3 separate regions of the Homo sapiens genome follow, and all the other regions are linked to region 2. The links are contacts of gene promoters, found by promoter capture Hi-C in blood cells and fetal thymus (Javierre and others, 2016). All regions are on one chromosome and are shown on one strand. Each heading gives the region's core, a stretch centred on a gene start or on the middle of the fragment in contact. The rest is flanking DNA. Distances are from core to core; before and after follow the strand shown. Region 1 has its middle 20 kb from the start of MRPL9. Region 2 holds the start of SELENBP1 (selenium binding protein 1). Region 3 overlaps TDRKH (tudor and KH domain containing).

Region 1 (3,387 bases), core at 768-3,267, 370 kb after region 2:
AAAGACCCTAAGAGATGTTGCTAACATTCTGATAGTGTAACTGAGTACCCCATTTTCCAAGAGATAGTTTATTTTTTTCTCTCTTTTTCTCTTTTCTGCTTTTCCCCTATAACTGCATTTAGAAATGCAGTTATAGCCTTTTACCTCCTCTTCACCAGACACTCCCTACAGGGCAAGTTCATCTAACTGTGTGTTTAGAAGTCCCAGAGCAGAACTCTCACCCAAGCAGGAGGTTACCTGAAGAGACAACCTACAAGTCCATCTACAAGCCAATGTATGCCTGCTATGAGACTCTCTCACCTGGAGAGTTTTTGGCTGCTTTGGCAACCTAGTCCTGCCCATGAAGGTGCCAGTAGTCACCAGCTCGGCCACCCAGTAGACAAGGCACCAAAGCGAGTATGCAGGCACCCCAGCTGCCTGCTTCTTCCCCTGCATGCCATTCATGTCAGCATGCCAGGTCCCCTTTTAAAAGCACCTGTTTTCTGCTCCAAGAGTGAAGTGGTACCCTAAAAGCCGGAGGCTATACCTTCTTCCCCTAAGCTAGCTTTGGAATAAAAAGTCGCTTTCTTTATACCAGACCTTGCTTTTGTTAATTGGACTCTGTAAGCAGCAAGCAACTGAACCTGTTTTGGTTACAGTGGGATGGCTCTGGGAAGCTTGGAGAAAGTCATGGCCCACATTAAGTGAAGTAGGCGTGTGAGGAGTGCTGTGGCATATAGTGGAAGAGGTGTTAAATGGCTCAAAAGAGTGGGCCTGCTAGGCCGGGTGTGGTGGCTCATGCCTGTAATCCCAGCACTTTGGGAGGCTGAGGTAGGAGGACTGCTTGAGCCCAGGAGTTCAAGCACAGCCTGGGCAACATAATAAGACCCCATCTCTATTTAAAAAAGAAAGAGTGGGTATGCTAGAATTAATATGTAAAGTCAGAAAACTCACCAAATGCTTATGTTTCATCAGACATCCCAAAGAATATTCACTTTCTTTAAAAGGCTCAAAAGAGTGGGCATGCGAGGCTGGGCGTGGAAAGAATACTCAATTTCTTGAAGTGATGAAGAATGTGCTGGTAAGAGAAGCTCAGGGTTGGCTGTTCTCTGTAGGCCAGGGCTGACATAGGGTATACGGTCACAGAGCTGGGCTTACTAGTAGCAGAGGGACAATAGGATGCCAGAGTCAAAGTAGCAGAATTATTGTGCTGAGCAGAAAGGTTGGAGAGGTAGCCAGGGTCTGACCAGCAGAGAAATTTGGCGATCATTAATAGAGCATGGGTTCCTGGGGACAAGATAGATGGCACTCAACAAATACGTTGTTCAATGCATTAAAAAACAAACAACAACAACAACAACAAAAAGAAATTAAGGATGGATGATTAGGAGGTGGAGGGCAGCCACCCTGATAAAAAGTTACAATTCCTTACTGTTTCTGCACCCGCTCAGCTTAAAAAAAAATTCATCTTTACTGAGGTACAATTTACCTACATTAAAATTCACCCATTTTAAATATATACTTTAATGAGTTTTACAGATATGTACAGTTGTTCAGCCATTAACACAAGATATGCAACATTTCCATCATGCCCCCAAATTTCCTTGTGGACAGTGGTGCGCTGGATCCCACTTATGCCACCTTGGGAGATTCAGCTGTTAACTAGCCTTTCTTCTCTACTAAATGTTCGGTCATGTCACATCGGTAATTTGAAATTGGCAATGGAGGGGTATTTACACCATGGAAATCAGCAAATGCTACAAACCAGGCTCCCTCTCCACCAAGAGCCAGTTGTTAAACATTTCCCAGGACACCGCTGCTCATTACCCTCTGCAGTCAATTCCCATCCTCAGCTCTGGCCCCTAGCAACCACTGATAAATTGCCACTATAGTCTTGCTTTTTAAAGAATTTCACATAAATGGAATCATATAGCATGTAGTCTTTTGTGTTCAACTTCTTTCATTATACTTTTAGGTTTATCACTGTTGTACATATCATTTGTTCCTCTCTCTTGTTGGGTAGTATTCCACTGTTTTTGCAGCAGTTGATGGATGTTTGGATTGTTTTCATTTGGGGACTATCATGAATAAAACTCCAATGAACTTTCACATATCATTAGTAACTTTTCATTTCTCTTTGGTAAATATCTGGGAATAGGATTGCTGTGTTAAATGGTAAGTGCATGTTTTAACTTTGTAAGGAACTGCCAAACTCTTTTTCAAAGTTCCTACCTCATTCTGCATTCCTACCAGCAATGTATGACCAGTTTATCTGCATTTTTAGCAGGATTTGGTGCTGTTGCTATTTTTTATTTCAGCCATTCTGATAGGTGTGTAGTAACACATTGTAGTTTTAATTTACATTTCTCTGATAGCTAATCATGTTGAACATCTTTTCATATGCTTGAATATTCTTTTGGGTGAAATGTATATTCATGTTTTTTGCCCATTTTCTAAGTGGATTGTTTGTGGGGTTTTTTGTTTGTTTGTTTTGTTTTTTTGATAGGGGTTCACTCTGTTGCACAGGCTGGAGTACAGTGGCACGATCATAGCTCACTATAACGTGGAACTCCTGGGCTCAAGTGATCCTCTTGTCTCAGTCTCCTATGTAGCTGGGTCTACAGGTGTGCACGGCCACACCTGGCTAATTTTTAAATGTTTGGTAGAGATGGGGTCTCCTTATGTTATCCAGGCTGTTCTCCAACTCCTGGCTTCAAGTGATCCTCCTACCTTGGCCTCCCAAAGTGCTGGAATTACAGGCAGTTTTTTTGTTTTGTTTTGTTTTTACTGTTGAGTTTGAGGGTTTTTTTTTTTTTTTTTACTGGAATTACAGGCAGTTTTTTTGTTTTGTTTTGTTTTTACTGTTGAGTTTGAGGTTTTTTTTTTTTTTTAATATACTGAAGATACTGGTCCTTTGTTAGATATGTAATTTGCAAATATTTTCTCCCAGTACCTTGTCTTTTCACCCTCTTCACATGGGCTTTCCAAGGGCAAAAGTTTTTAATTTTGAGAGGTCCAAAATCTCAATTTTTTTTTCATGGATTGTGCTTTTGGTATCATGTCTAAGAACTCTTTGTCTAATCCTAGAATTTGAAAGTGTTCTTCTGTTTTAAAAATAAGTTTTATAGTTTTACAAGTTACATTTAAGTCTTTTGCCATTTTGAGCTAATTTTTATAGAAGGTATTAGACTTAGATCGAGTTTCATTTTTTGCCTATGGCTGTCCAGTTGCTCCAACATCATTTGTTGAAAAGGCTAGCTTTCCTCCAGCGAATTGATTTTTTTAAATTGAATTGAGGTAGTACCTTTTCATTGAATTGAGGTAGTACCTTTGTACTACCTCAGCACTATGTTGAATATAAAAACATTCAGACTTTCACCATTAAGTGTAATGTTAACTGTAAGCTTT
Region 2 (3,612 bases), core at 240-2,739:
TCTATTAAAAATACAAAAATTACCCTGTATTAAAAATTAGCCTGTATTAAAAAATACAGGCATACACCTGTAATCCCAGCTACTTGGGAGGCTGAGGCAGGAGAATCACTTGAACCTGGGAGGTGGAGGCTGCAGTAAGCCGAAATCACGCCACTGCAGTCACTCCAGCCTGGGCAACAAGAGTGAAATTCTGACTAAAAAAAAAAAAAAATAATGAATTACTGTGTAAATATGGGAAGGGCTGTGCCAGAGGAGAGGAGAATGCCAGGGAGTGCTCGATGCCCAGCGAGAGGGCTGGAGGTGGGGCAGGGAGAGAGAGAGAGGTCCAGTTCACAGGAGTTAAGGAGACTGGTTCTGTTACACAATCTTGCTAAGTCGGGGCTTGGCACCAGATGACAGGGGGTGGGGAAGGAGGTTGCTGGATACAGAAGGGAAAGGAGATTTTAAAACTCCAAGACCTCAAGACAGAGATACAAAAAATACAAAGCTAGGGAGAAGCTGAGAGGGAAGTAAAAGTGCAGAGATGGAGCTGCCCGCTCTGCAGCCTCGGCCCACCCCACACCCCAGCAACCCCAGCCCCAGCATTTCTTAGGGTCAGGCCTGGCATGCCACTGCAGCCCCAGGGAGCATCATTCCTCTTTCTGGGGAATACCCCCATCTGAAACATCTCAAGCAAGGTCTCGGAGCAGCTTTGGGTTTGGGATGGACTCATGGAAAGCTCAAGTGGGTTTTCCATGTCAGGCTGGCTGCTGGGCATTCTGCCAGCTCGGCATTCTGCCAGCTCAAGAGCCAGCCCCGAGCGGGGAAGGACCTCCCAACCAAACCTCAGTTCCTTCTTAGCCTGTCACCCAGAAGCCTACAGATGGAGGAATAGCAGGGCCAAGGGGGATTTAGGGGTGGGGGAGGCATTGAAACAGGTCCCCAGTGAAAGAGTGTGGGGGTCTCTGATTTCCCTCCCAGAGAGCTTTGCTGTGTGGAGTAGCTAGAGAGTGACCTGGGCACAGAAAGGCTTTGGACTCCCTACCTCGCTGGAGTACAAAGTTGGCCCATGGCTGAAATCAGGATCACCTCTCTACTATGTGAGGGCCAGGGACCTAGTGGTGTTTTCTAAGAGCGCCCATCTGATTTTCCCAGCTGCAGAAAGGCACCCTGGTCCCAGCCTCTGCTGGATGGAGCCAAGTCAGGGCCCAGGATCCCATCTCCCAGCAGTGCCTCTGCCCGTCTTCCTCAGAAAGTTTGGCTGAGCTGGGAAATGCAGTGGGGTGGTGGGGGAGGGGGTGTGCAGACTGGGGACAATGAAGCAGAGTCCACTACTCCCTCCCCAGCTCCCCACTCAGGTTTTCTAGCATTTTCTGGAGGAGGGCCTTCCAAATTAGGGGCAGACAGAGCAGGCAATGGGTGATTGGAAACCCCTCTCCTTACCCATGCTGCCGACTGGTACACTTTGATCCCGGCGGGTTTGCTGTGCTGGTGTCAGAGGCCGCTGTTCCGGGGAAGGAGCGAAGGGAGGGAATTTATACAACCAGCTGGGGGTGGGGCAGAGAAGGAGGAGGGCCCGGGCTGTAGCCCAGAGTAAACTACTCAGGGCAGCTGGCCAGGATACTCTCAAGTGGCCTAGGGCAACTGGTGTTTGAATTATGGGGTGTGCGTGTATGTGTTTAAGTGTGTATGTGTGGGAGCCTGTGCTTTATTTATTTATTTATTTATTTAGAGACAGGGTCTCACTCTTGCCCAGGCTGGAGTGCAGTGGTGCGATCTCGGCTCACTGCAACCTCTGCCTCCTGGGTTCAAGTGATTCTCCTGCCTCATCCTCCCGAGTAGCTGGGATTACAGGCACCCACCACCATGCCCAGCAATTTTGTATTTTTAGTAGAGAAGGGATTTCACCATGTTGGCCAGGCTGGTCTCAAACTCCTGACCTCAGGTGATCCACCCGTGTCGGCCTCCCAAAGTGCTGGGATCACAGGTGTGAGCCGCTGCCCCTGACCAGCTCGTGCTCTTTAGTGGGTGCCTGGGTGTGTGTGGATTTGTGTGTCTGGGCATGTGTGTGTTCCTGTATACCTGCGTGTTGCTCGTGCACGTGCCTGCATGAGTGTGTATCTGTGCCTGTGTGTGAATTTCCACGTGTGTGAATGTGCCTGTGAGTGTGCTTGTGTGTATTTGTGCGTGTGTGTGTGTGCGCGCCTCTGTATGTGCCTACCAGAGTATCTACGCCTGTGTGTGTGTGTGTGTGTGTGTGCGCGCCTCTGTGAGTATGTGCTTGCTAGAGTATCTACGCCTGTGTGGACATGTGCATAAGTGCTTGTGTATGTGTAGTGTGTGGCTATGTGGCTGTGCATGTGCTTGTGTAAGCCTGCGCACGTATGTGTTCCTGTGTCTCCAAATGCTCGTCTTTGTATTTGGACCTGTCTCTTAGCATTTAGGGGCACCCGGGACTGTGGGCCCATCAGCCAGGGTCACTTCTTCCCTAAGATTGCCCTCTTATTCCAGATATTCATACTCTTTGGATAAAAGCTCTGGGGTGAAGTTTTTATTGGCTAGGAAAAAGAATAAAGTCTGGGCTTGAGATTGCAAGTAGAATACAGGGTTTCCAAACCAGAGTGGGGGAAGGGGAGCAAAATTGGGCCTTGGTGCATTGGGTATCTGTCTTCCTGGCTCCCATCAGTGAGGGATCATGTGCCCATCAAGGAAGACTCCCTGTGGCTGCCCGGGGCAAGGGTCTTCTCTTATCCCCAGCGCCACTCAACCCCTCTTGGCTCCATCCTGCATCTATTATCCTCACCATTGTGCCATCAGCCTGCCAGGCATCAAAGAGAGTCTTGTGTGTGCAGCTGCCCCACGGGGAAGGCCCTGAAGGCTGCTTCCTTGTCTTTGCCAGCTTCCTCCTGTCCTGACTACCTCCACTCACCCTGCCTTCACCCTTCCCTCTGGCCCTCCCCTCTTCCTCCTCCTGAGGTCTCCATCTCCTGCCTCCTCTCTATTCTCCGGCTTCTTGGCTTGGGTTAGTCCACCACCCAAGATCTGAAAGAGAAAGAAACTTTATCCCCACCTTCTCATAAAAAATTATTGAGTCATTAACTTAAAAAAAAAAAGGCTGTTATTTTGTTTGTTGTGGTCTGTCATTGACTACCTCTTTCATGCTCCTGAGCTCTGACCTGGCTGGTCTCTGCAGCAACTCCATGGCACCCCTCACCTCTGCCTGTGGTTTTCTCCCTGAACTCTTGCTCTACAGCCAGCAGGTGGTTGGGGAAGTTATCCTAATCTGGGCTACAGAGGGAGGCAGTAAAGGTAGAGGGGCGATTCTCCTGCCTCAGCCTCCCGAGTAGCTGGGACTACAGGTGCCCACAACCATACCTGGCTCATTTTTGTATTTTTAGTAGAGACGGGGTTTCACCATGTTGGACAGGCTGGTCTCGAACTCCTGACCTCAAGTGATCCACCCACCTCCGCCTCCCAAAGTGCTGGGATTACAGGCCTGAGACACCGTGCCTGGCTGACCTGGATAATTTTTAAATTTTTTTTGTAGAGATGGGGGGTCTCACTATGTTGCCCAGACTGGTCTCAGACTCTTGGGCTCAAGTGATCTGCCTTGGTCTCCCAAAGTTAATTTTG
Region 3 (3,789 bases), core at 707-3,206, 410 kb after region 2:
AGTGGTACCTATGATTCTGCCCACAGATCTCTGGGGAACTGAAAGCTGCTCAGACACTGGGGTATTCTCTGTCAGGATCTGATGGATTGCTGCTTTGGCCTTGCACACCTGAACAGGAAAACCACTGATAAGCAGCACTCGCTCATCGCCTACATCCTCTGTGTCCACATCAATCCGAGCACCTGTCTGTTTCCGCAGCTGCAAAGAAAAGGACATTTGGCAGTACATTCTGGAAGAGCTCCCATTTGAGCCCAGCTACAGACACTCTAAAACAAACCCTGGAGGTAGATAGAATTAGCCAAAGGAATTAGCTAATACTATCTATACAACCAGTCCTCAATTACTTTATATACAACCTCAGTTACTATCTATACAACCAGTCCTCACTTTATGGAAGGAGATTAGTAACAAATGTAACCCCAAATAGCAGTAAATTCAAACCCATTTATCTTTGTGTTTAGAATCCTTTCCCCTTACTAATTTTATTTGGATTAGAGAATCAAATATTTTGTTTTCTTGACATTCCAGCTGAACAATGGAAGATGGTAAGAAGAACCAGGTAGCCATTCAATATTTACTGTCAATTAATGAGAGTTCATTAATTCCATAGTAGAAAAGGATAATTTGACCAGGCGCGGTGGCTCACGCCTCTAATCCCAGCACTTTGGGAAGCCAAGGCGGCTGGATCACGAGGTCAGGAGATCGAGACCATCCTGGCTAACATGGTGAAACCCTGTCTCTACAAAAAATACAAAAAATTAGCTGGGAGTGGTGGCGGGCACCTGTAGTCCCAGCTACTTGGGAGGCTGAGGCAGGAGAATGATGTGAACATGGGAGGCGGAGCTTGCAGTGAGCCAAGATCATGCCACTGCATTCCAGCCTGGGTGACAGAGCCAGACTCTGTCTCAAAAAAAAAAAAAAAAAGGATAATTCAAGTTATACCATGCTGACAATCACCCAGTCAAAAACCCGTATTTCAAGCTAAGTCATCCTTTCTCTAGGGAGAAGTACTCTTCTCTAGAAGGGAAGTAGCTAAAAAGTTTAGTTAGCTAAAAAGTTCCTCTATTTGTTCTTTTAAAAATATACATAGTGGTTGGGCCCAGTGGCTCACACCTGTAATCCCAGCACTCTGGGAGGCCGAGGCAGGCGGATCACCTGAGGTCAGGAGTTCGAGATCAGCCTGGCCAACATGACGAAACCTCGTCTCCACTAAAAATACCAAAAATTCGCTGGGCGTGGTGGCGGGTGCCTGTAATCCCAGCTACTCGGGAGGCTGAGGCAGGAGAATCACTTGAACCCAGGAGGCGGATGTTGCAGTGAGCCGAGATCGTGCCATTGCACTCCAGCCTGGACAACAAGAGCGAAACTCCATCTCAAAAAAAAAAAATATATATATATATATTTTATATATACACACACACATACACACACACACAGAGCATGTGAATGTTTTGTGATATGGGGTCAGTGGAAGGAAACAAGAAATCAATAAACAGAATCAATCCTTGGGAAAGCAGACTGCCTACTCACACACTTACCTGTTTAATATTGGCTCCTTGCCGGCCAATGATGAGTTTCACAGCCTCCTGGGGAACCCGCATCTCTATCTCAATGTCATCTTCCCCAACAAATGTCAGCCGCTCTTCTGCACAGATCATTGTTCATCAGATCAGACTTAGATAACACCCAAAGCTAGTATAACTACCAGTCCTCCCCAGAATCTGGCTGTCAAAGAGACACTGATCCAAGAGATAAAGTGAGGATCTCAACCATAACAACAAGGAAAAGTGGCATCTGAATGGGAATTAGAAGGTCCCAAAGGATCAGAGATGGGCATTTTCTCTGGGACACTGTTTCAGATGCTAAAATGGGAAAAGCAGATTCTGCAATAAACAGGTGCTGGGGTTTGGGCAAACTACTTCTCCCAAGACATGACTACTGGAGAAGAATGAAGGCCAAAAGTTACCTGAGGGGTCCATTAGGCTCAGAACTTCTCCTGACTGATAGGTACATAAGTCATTTCTCTAGGTCCTATTCTCTAGATCCAGCCTTTGAGGTAAGTGCCTTCTACTAACAACTAATTAGAGAAAAGGAATATATAAAAAAGATGAGTATAGAAATTAAAAAAGAACTCTTTGCTGTGTTGATGTTGCTGAAGAAAGCACATCAATGGAGTTATAAAATGAGTTCATTTCATAGACTAGCTTACTTTGCTATGTAAGAACATAGCAAAGACTAGGCCAGGTGCAGTGGCTCATGCCTGTAATCTCAGCACTTTGGGAGGCCGAGGCAGGTGGATCACTTGAGGTCAGCCACCCTGGTGGTGAAACCCCGTCTCTACTAAAAATACAAACATTAGCCAGGAGTGGTGGCACACGCCTGTAATCCCAGCTACTAGGGTGGCTGAGGCAGGAGAACTGCTTGAACTCGGGAGGCAGAGGTTGCAGTGAGCCGAGATTGCTCCACTGCACTCCAGTGTGGGCGACAGAGTGAGACTCTGTCTCAAAGAAAAAAAAAAGACTAAATAATTTTAGTCAAAGATTCCTCACAGAAAGTCAATTAAAATACCTGGGTCAGGCATGGAGGCACATGCCTGTAATCCTAGCACTTTGGGAGGCCGAGGCAGGTGGGTTGCTTGAGCTCAGGAGTTCAAGACCAGCCTGGGCAACATGGGAAAACCCCATCTCTACAAAAAATACAGGCCTGTGGTCCCAGCTACTTGGAGGCTGAGGTGGGAGGATTGCTTGAGCCCAGGAGGTCGACACTACAGTGAGCCAAGATTGTGCCACTGTACGCCAGGCTAGGTGACAGAGTGAGACCCTGTCTCAAAAAAACCCCACAAAAAACCCCAAAACAAAACACACACAATACCTGGCAAGGAAAGAGTTTTTTTCAATTTAACAAGGCAGGAGCATGTCTGAACATTTTCACACACACAGTCATAGGGTTCACGTACCTCTGCTTTCCCTATACCTGCGGTATAGGATATAGGCAACTGTTGCACTGGCTGGGATCCCAAGGCCCAGGGCTATTTTCTGAATGGTGGACAGGCTTGTCCAAGAAGTCCGTTCAGTAGACATTTTCTGCTGTACTCTTTGACTTATATCCTGAAACAAGCAAAGCAGGGAAAAGAGGGAGGTTTCATCCAATCCTTTTATGAATAGCAGAGAGGCATGGGAGCACATTATTACTGAAAAGACTACTACTGCCTACCTTCCAATTTCAAGAGCTTCAGCAATTTCAAAATTTATTTCATATAAAAAGGGCTCAGGGTATTTTTTAAAAGTTAGCTAAGGTACACATAGAATTAAATAGAAGCATACTTCACTTTCCCCACCCAAGTCAGTTTTAAAAGACAAAAAAAATTAAATGAATCAAATATTTGAAATATATATACTTAGATTTCATATTAAATTATTTAAAATTACTTATCTAAGTCCTTTTATGCCTCCAGGGCTTTCCAGAAGCTGCTGCCTCTGCAAGAAATGCCATTCCAGGCTTAGTAAAGGCCTTACTATTTATCTTTGTTGGAAGTACAGTCTTCATTTACTGTCTCTACTTTTGGTTTCTATTTATTTACTCCTTAACGAACAGTGAAATGGGGTTCTTCCCTGCTCCATCGCCAAAACTGTAACTTCCCAGATAATCAACCTACAGGTCATGCATGGAGCCTTATCTCACCCATCTCTCTGCGGTAGCAGGAAGGTGGCCACTCCCTCCACAAAACTCTTTCCTTGGTTTCTGTGCCCTCTTTCTCTTGGTTTCCTCTTATTTCCCTGGAGGGTCCTT

What was found. The method cuts DNA at HindIII sites, captures the fragments that hold promoters and counts their contacts. A CHiCAGO score of 5 or more calls a contact.
Region 1: a fragment that was not itself captured here is called in contact with the fragment with the promoter of SELENBP1 in region 2 in 2 of 17 cell types (M2 macrophages and M1 macrophages); the score reaches 8.2 in M2 macrophages.
Region 3: a contact is called between a fragment that was not itself captured here and the fragment with the promoter of SELENBP1 in region 2, in 2 of 17 cell types (M2 macrophages and erythroblasts). The highest score is 10.4, in M2 macrophages.

The regions. Positions count from the first base shown.
Region 1 is chr1:151,741,351-151,744,737 of GRCh38, forward strand. No RefSeq gene overlaps it. Among named protein-coding and RNA genes, the nearest start is that of MRPL9, 20 kb to the right of the region's middle. The HindIII fragment of the contact is 2,727 bases long and covers 655-3,381 here.
Region 2 is chr1:151,371,216-151,374,827 of GRCh38, forward strand. SELENBP1 (selenium binding protein 1) reads right to left here and starts at 1,490. Exons shown (of 12, transcript NM_003944.4): 1 at 1,423-1,490. The coding sequence starts at 1,426. RefSeq lists enhancers at 1-97, 844-1,427, 1,428-2,011. The HindIII fragment of the contact is 17,083 bases long and covers 1-3,612 here.
Region 3 is chr1:151,779,943-151,783,731 of GRCh38, forward strand. It overlaps TDRKH (tudor and KH domain containing), which reads right to left. Exons shown (of 13, transcript NM_001083965.2): 2 at 2,957-3,107; 3 at 1,539-1,645; 4 at 9-198. The coding sequence starts at 3,080. Among named protein-coding and RNA genes, the nearest start is that of TDRKH, 8.7 kb to the right of the region's middle. The HindIII fragment of the contact is 4,445 bases long and covers 1-3,789 here.